2 separate regions of the Homo sapiens genome follow, and region 1 is linked to region 2. Evidence: promoter capture Hi-C in 16 types of primary human blood cells and fetal thymus (Javierre and others, 2016). All regions are on one chromosome and are shown on one strand. Each heading gives the region's core, a stretch centred on a gene start or on the middle of the fragment in contact. The rest is flanking DNA. Distances are from core to core; before and after follow the strand shown. Region 1 overlaps COX19 (cytochrome c oxidase assembly factor COX19). Region 2 holds the start of CHLSN (cholesin).

Region 1 (3,855 bases), core at 96-2,595, 170 kb before region 2:
CAGGCGATCCTCCCACCTTGGCCTCCCAAACTGCCGGGATGACAGGTGTGGGCCATCGTGTCTGGCCTGGGCCCCTTTTGGACTCTGCTCTGGAATAGTAATGCTTGCGGTGCTCTAAGCCGCTGGGCTTGCAGTAATCTGTTACTGTGGCCAGAGGAACCGATACAGGAAGCTTCAGGAAGTCAGTTTGCCTTGCTCCTGAGGCCTGGGTGGAACAGGTCCAGTGCTGAGCTCCGGCTACACGGCCTGTGCAAACGAGGCCCCACGCATCAGCCCTGGGGCTGCAGACCCGACCCTGGGGGGCTCTGGGCCTCCAGGTCAGACCTCCCCTCCTGGGAAGCCACACCGGGCCAGGCCTGCGACCACGCTACCTCCGGTTTACCTCATGCCCAAGGGGAACGCTTGGAAAACGCTCTGGAAATTGTCTTTGGGAGCCTTTTAATAATGTGGCCAGCTTATCATGACAAGCGTCTATGAGAAATAAAATGCATTCTGCACATGACAGATGATGAACTACCCGAAATATCTCGTGAGAAGCTCTGGCAGGAACAGCAGGGTGTCTGGATTCTTAAGCACAACACATTCAGCAGCCAGACCCAGAAACTCAAAGGCAGCGTTGGGAAGCCACTGCACGTTTGTAAGGAGTCAGGTTGTCCACACAATGGCGCTATTTTGGGATTCCGGCTTCTCTGCCTGTGACCTGCTGAAACCATTCATGCCGGCATCATGCCTATTGGAAACTCTTTGAAGTTATTTTGAAACGAGAATCGACTCAATCTATTCCACTATAGTTTCATACAAAGCATATTTTTTTTTCCTCATTTCAAAATAATTTCAGACTTCCAAAAAGTTCCAAAAATAGGACAGTGTGTATACCCAGTTCCCCAAATAACATCTTACATAACACTGGGCCAGCGCTGCCAGTCACTTCGCAGAAGGCTCCTCGGTTTGGGTCTGTGTCTGTTGTCTCCTTGGGATTACATTCAGGCCATGCAGTTGGGCAAGAGAACCAGAGGTGATACCGTGCCCTCAGGGACGCCCCCAGGTCGGTGCGGCCTGTGCGGCTCGCTCCCGGCGGTGGCTGCTGGGTTAAGGGGGCCTCTGCCGTTCTGCTGTGACATGACTGTCTCCTCGGAGGTCACTATGCATCTCAAGGGGAGGTTTCTCAAGACAGCAGACACCTGCTTCACACCACACGTCACCACTCACTTCATGGCAACTGAGGGTTTTTTTTTGAGACGGTTCTGTCGCCCAGGCTGGAGTGTGGTGGCACAATCCCTGCTCACTGCAACCTCTGCCTCCTGGTTTAGGCAATTCTCCCACCTCGGCCTCCCGAATAGCTGGATTACAGACACACGCCACCAGCCCCAGCTAATTTTTGTATTTTTAGTAGAGACAGGGTTTCTCCATGTTGGCCAGGCTGGCCTTGAACTCCTGGCCTCAAGTGATCTGCCTGCCTCGGCCTCCCAAAGTGTTGGGATTATAGGCGTGAGCCACTGGCGCCCGGCCCGCTGAGGGTTGTAATCTGCACCTGTCACCAGTGTGGTTTCTGCAACAGCAGTTTCCTGTTCCCAAAATTTCTTCTATATTAGAATTAATAAGACAGACCTGGCCCTCCCCCCACTGACATGTTTACGCAATTACTTATGTTGTATAGACTACTGGATATCAATTTATTCTGAGGGCTACAGCCCATTACAATAATTAATTTTCTTTCTTTTTTTTTTTTTTTTTTCCTTTGGTGAGACAGGGTCCGGCTCTGTTGCTCAGGCTGGAGAGCAGTGGTACAATCACAGCTCACTGCAGACTTAACCTCTGGCTCAAGTGATCCTCCTGCCTCAGCTTCCTGAGTATCTGGGACTACAGGCGGGTGACACCACGCACGGCTGACTTTTCTTGTTTTGTAGAGACAGGGTTTCACCCATGTTGCCCAGGCTGGTCTTGAACTCCTAGCCTCAAGTGATCCTCCCACCTTGGCCTCCTAAAGTGCTGGGATTGCAGGCGTGAGCCGCTGCGCCCAGCCTGTTTATTTTCACGCTCACACTGCCCCAGGCTGGCCACCGTATGCTCCTTCCCATCCCCCCGTGTTATTTCAACAAGTCTCCTCATCCCAGCAATTCTTCACTCTCTAGCTCATCTGATACCTTCTCTGGCCTGGCCCTGGTTCCTTTTGGTTACAGAATGGTATCAGGGCCAAGACCCTGAGTGCACGGGTCACTGCGTCCAGGCCCTCAAGAGCTGGGAAGCATTTGTGCACAGCCCCTCACAACAGTCCCCCTTACACACGGTTTCAGTTACCCATGGTCAGCCACAGTCCAAAAATACTAAGTGGAAAATTCCAGAAATAAACCATTCATGAGTTTTTGATTCTGTGCTGTTCTGAGCAGCCGTCCTGCTGGGACATCAACCCTCCCTCCGTCCAGCGTTTCGGGCCATCCACGCCACCCTGCCTGCCAGGCACTCAGCAGCCATCTCGGTGATCAGACCAGCCATCGCGGTGATGTGGTGCTTGGGTCCAAGAAGCTTTTATTTTACTTAAGAATGGCCCCAGAACAGGACAGTGGTGATGCTGGCGACTCAGACACACCAGAGAAGCTGCCAAGCGCTTCCTTTAAGGGAAAAGGTGGAAACTCCTGACCTATAAGAAAAACAGCCAGATGCCGAGGTTGCTAAGATCTCCGGTAAGAACACAGTGCCCATCTGTGACATTTTGAAGAGGGAAGCACGAAGTTCTGTCAGTTTTGCTGTCACATCTCAGACTTGATCACAGGTACGTACAGGAAAAAACAGCGCCTGGACAGGATTCGGGACTATCCGCGGCTTCGGCACCTGCTGGGGTCTCGGAGCACACCCTGGCCAGGTGAGGGCGATCACTCCGTTTCTCTATCCAGTTACCTTTGTACGTTAGAAAAGCAGGAGCTCAATACACCTGGCTCTCATCATCCACGATGTATTTCTAGTTTTTTCCATCTCAGAATACAGCTTCAGAATCGTCCACGCAAAAAACAAATTTACTACTTAGAGTACAGTATCTTTCCTGTCTTTCCCACCTTTGGTCGACGGTCTTCCCCACACTCCTGATGGGTCAGAGTGCGGTGCGAGCGGAGAGGCAGGCCCGACCCGGGCCTGGGCACTCCCGACGGCGGGTCAGAGTGCGATGGGAAGAGGCCCCGGCCTGGGCCCGGGAGCTCCGTCGGCATGGTCTGTTGTGTTCCCCTCACATCCTGGTTCATTTACTTTTTGAGCATGTGAAACCCTCTGCCATGACAGCCAGAACTCCACCCCCAGGGGTGCTCGGAGGGGCTCGCGGCCGGCTATGCCCATCAGTTCCAGCTCCTCCTTCTGGATTTCTCGTTTGTAGTTTCCTGTGTCCCTGCCTGTCTCCACTTCACAGTAAGCTCACGCCATATAGCCGCACTGCGTTGGCGAGCTCATGGCACGTGGCCACACCGCGTCAGCGCCGACTCCACGGTGGCTGCGTCACGGCTCACGTGCACTGTGAGGACACTGGGGTTGCTATAGACAGTGCTGGGGCAACCCTGTGCCTACACAAAATATTCTAATAAGAAACAAGACTTTCCATCAACTAGCGGTGATATGTTAATACGTCTGCAGCACTCAGAGGCCTGACAGAGAGCAGACACGGGACAGTGACAGCTGCAGCCGAATCAGGTGGTAGAACCCATGGGTGCAGGGACACAGGGTTGGGCGGGCCCAGCCGCAATAGGTACTCAGTTCTGTGAGGAGGGGAGGGACATGTTTAACCACGAAAGGGCCACCACTGCAGGACAGAAACAGAGGGCCTTTGCTGCAGAGAACTGGAGATGGGCTGAGAAGCCTCAGCCACCCACAGGC
Region 2 (3,847 bases), core at 638-3,137:
ATATATATAAATATATATAAATATATAAACATATATATAAATATATATAAACATATATATAAATATATATAAACATATATATAAATATATATAAACATATATAAACATATATAAATATATAAACATATATAAACATATAAATATATATAAACATATATAAATATATATAAACATATATATGAACATATATAAACATATATAAACATATAAACATAAACATATATAAACATATATAAACATATATAAATATATATAAATATATAAAAATAAATATATATATGCGGATGTGTGTATAAACTGTGTATATATATAACTATATATATAACCATATATATGTACTTATATATATCATCTACACATATATCATCTCAAGCTTAAGAATTCGTAATCAATACCCCTGATCACCCTCCACAAACCTGAGCTTCCTAGTGTTCATCCTCTCCATAAACATCCATCTGATGAGGTTCACATAGTAGCTCAAGCTTAAAACCTTGGTCCATCCATAAATCCTCTCTTTCTCACATACTCGTCCAACCCACCACAAACTCCTGTTGGTTTACCACTGAAATACACCCAGAATGTGACTCCCTTAAGATCCCATAGGTACCCAGTCCAAGCCACCACCTCTCACGATGGCTTTTAAACTCCTAAATCAGATGGTGTGTCACCTCCACTCAAAAAACTTCCCAAGCTGTCCCCTTCCACTTGGAGGGAAAGTCAAGGTCCTTGCCACTTGGTAAGGTCCACACGACTGCCCTGGCCCCTCCTCGCATCTCTGGGAACTCACCTCCTCTTTCTCTCTCTGTTCCCAAATTGGCTGCAGCCACACTGGGCTCCCTGCTGTTTCCCCTGCACCTGCTGTTTCCTCGACCTGGAATGTTCTGGTGCCTCACTCCTCCTCCTGCTTCCTTTCCATTCTCAAAACCCCTGTTCTCATCTTCTCCATGGCACTTACCATCACCTGCTCTGTGCACCTTGTTCATCTGTCTCTCCCCTCCAGAATGGAAGTTCACTAGATCACAGACTTGTCTCCACTTGTTGACAGCTGTAGCCCAATGCCCCGAACAGTGCAGGAGGAACCCAATGAACGTTTTTTAAAAATGAATGAATGAATGACGGAAGGAAGGAAACGGAAAGCATGCTTATGATGGAAAGTGAGGCCAAGCGCGTTGGCTCACTCCTGTAATCCCAGCACTTTGGGAGGCCGAGGCAGGAGGATCCATCGCTTGAGCCCAAGAATTCGAGACCAGCCTGGGTAACATGGTGAGACCCCATTTCTACAAAAAACATTTTTAAAAATTATCCGGGTGTGGTGGCGCGCGCATGTGGTCCCAGCTACTTGGGAGGATGAGGCGGGAGGACGGCTTGAGCCCAGGAGGTGGAGGCTGCAGTGAGCTATGATCACGCCATTGCACTCCAGCCTGGGTGGCACAGCGAGACACTGCCTCAAAAATTGAAAAAGAGAAAGTGGGAGCTGAAAGCCTCGGAGGGCAATCAGGGCGTCTTCAGAGAAAGACAATGAAACCAGAGCCACTGCAAGCCCTGACGGCCTGAAACCTAGGAGCCAGCTGAGTCCCTTCCACTCGCCCGCGCTGAGTTAACCCAGAGGCGGGTGCGGGTGTCGGAGCCCGCGCCGGGACGCACCGGCCGCACCGGCCGCACCAGCCTCCCCAGCACCGCGGACCCCAGGGCCGCCGCCCGGTCGCGCCGCGCCGGGCCTCCGCGCACCCACGTGGAGGGGGCGGAGCCCCGCGGGAGCCCGCCCCGGGGCTCTGGGTCTCCTGGCGCCCTGACCCGCCGGCCACCCCGCCGCCGCCCCACGCGCCTACCTGCGCCCACCTGCGCCCACGTCGCCCACCTAAGCGTGAACAGCTGCGTCGCGGACGCCGCCTTCCGGCAGGGACCCGCGCCCCAGGTAAGCGTTAGTCCCGCCTTCAGGAGTGCGGAGCCTCCCATTGGACGAGGTCTGCGTCCGTCTCTCCGCCGGCTAATGGCAAGCGGCGGCAGCACGGGGGGCGGTTCCAGGACCGGGCGCGGGCTACTGACGCCATCTCTAGAGGCCTAGAGTTGCTTGGAGAGGAGCTGGTTGCCAAGGCAACCCGCCCTGCCCAGAACAAGTGCAGATGACTAGGTTTGGGCCCCGCAGGGCTTGGGGGTCTGGGGTGCAAGCTGCCCCGGCCGGGCTGGCGTCCCGGGGTGGGGCCTCCGCCGAGGGTCCAGGGTATGGAGCTCGGCTCGGAGTCGAAATGGATGAGCTACGGCTATTGGGATCAACAGGGCTAGGACTTAAACTTCGTGCTGAATTTAAAAAATCAGGATAGGTGCTAAAAAATACACAGGGTGGGTAGTGTTATAATAATGCTTGTGTCCGGGAGCGGTGACTCACGCCTGTGATCCCAGCATTTTGGGAGGCCCAGGCGGGCGGATCGCTTGAGCTCAGGAGTTCGAGACCCGCCTGGCCAACATGACGAAACCCCGTAACCCCGTCTCTGCTAAAAATACAAAAATTAGCCAGGCGTGGTGGCAGGTGCCTGTAATCCCAGCTACTCGGGAGGCTGAGGCAGGAAAATCGTTTAAGCCCGGGAGGTGGAGGTTGCAGTGAGCCGAGATCGTGCCACTGCACTCCAGCCTGGGCGACAGAATGAGACTCTGTTTTAAAAAATAAAAAATAAATTAAAAAAATAAAAATTAGCCGGGTATGGTGGCACGTGCCTGTAGTTCCTGATACTCTGGACGCTGAGGTGGGAGGATCGCTGGAGCCTGGGAGATGGAGGCTGCAGTGAGCTATGATCAAGGCACTGCACTCCAGCCTGGGCAACAGAGCCAGACCCCGTCTAAAAAAAAAAAAGAAAAAAAAGCATGCTTTCAAGTCACCCAGTAAGTTAAGTGCTTGGCAGCCGTATCAAGTATGATGTACGTTGCCTCAGGAATCCAAAGGTGACAAGCAAAGAAGGTGCACTCTTCCTTACTGGTAGAAGATTGTATTTGGTTCCTTTTTCTGCATAACAAATTAACCCAACATTTAGCAGCCTAAAAGAACATTTATTTTTTCATGGTATCCGCGGTCAGGAAAGTGGGCGTGGCTAAGCTCTGTGCCTTTGCCTCAAGGGTTCACCAAGTTGTGGTCAAGGTGTCCCCCCAGGGTTGTGGTTTCATCGGAAAGCTTATCTGGAATGATCCACTCCCAAGCTCACACACACGGATATTGTAAGGACTCAGTCCTCCAAGGTCATTAGAGAAGGGCCTCAGCCTTGCTGGCTGCTGCCCAAAGGCCACCCTCAGTTCCTTGGTACATGGGCCTTACCACAAGGAAGCTCACAACACTGCAGCTGGCTTGCCTTAGACGGTGCAAGCACACACAAGAGGAGGCACACACAAGACGCACATCACAGTCTCCTTGCACCCTAATCTCAGAAGTGACTTCCCTAGGCTTTTGCCATATTCTGTTCATTAGAAGTCGGCCGGGTGCGGTGGCTCACACCTGTAATCCCAGCACTTTGGGAGGCTGAGGTGGATGGATCACTTGAAGTCAGGAGTTCAACACCAGCCTGGCCAACGTGGCAAAACTCCATCTCTACTAAAAATACAAAAATTAGCCAGGCATGGTGGCATGTACCTATAATCCCAGCTACTCAGGAGGCTGAGGCATCAGAACCTATTGAACCCGGGAGGCAGAGGTTGCAATGAGCTGAGACCGCGCCACTGCACTCCAGCCTGGGCGACAGAGCAAGACTCCAGCTCAAAAAAAAAAAAAAAAAAAAAGTGAATCATGGCCAGGTGCAGTGACTCAGGCCTGTAATCCCAGCTCTTTGGGAGGCTGAGTCAGGAGGATGGATGGACACCAGGA

Evidence for each region. The method cuts DNA at HindIII sites, captures the fragments that hold promoters and counts their contacts. A CHiCAGO score of 5 or more calls a contact.
Region 1: a fragment that was not itself captured here is called in contact with the fragment with the promoter of CHLSN in region 2 in 1 of 17 cell types (total B cells); the score reaches 5.7 in total B cells.

What each region holds. Positions count from the first base shown.
Region 1 is chr7:964,431-968,285 of GRCh38, forward strand. COX19 (cytochrome c oxidase assembly factor COX19) reads right to left here. Exons shown (of 3, transcript NM_001031617.3): 3 at 422-3,855. Among named protein-coding and RNA genes, the nearest start is that of COX19, 9.2 kb to the right of the region's middle. RefSeq lists enhancers at 60-169, 2,640-3,140, 3,141-3,641. The HindIII fragment of the contact is 2,351 bases long and covers 171-2,521 here.
Region 2 is chr7:1,136,360-1,140,206 of GRCh38, forward strand. It overlaps CHLSN (cholesin), which reads right to left and starts at 1,888. Exons shown (of 5, transcript NM_001318252.2): 1 at 956-1,888. RefSeq lists silencers at 1,448-1,497, 1,508-1,957, 2,158-2,297 and an enhancer at 2,018-2,117. The HindIII fragment of the contact is 2,681 bases long and covers 481-3,161 here.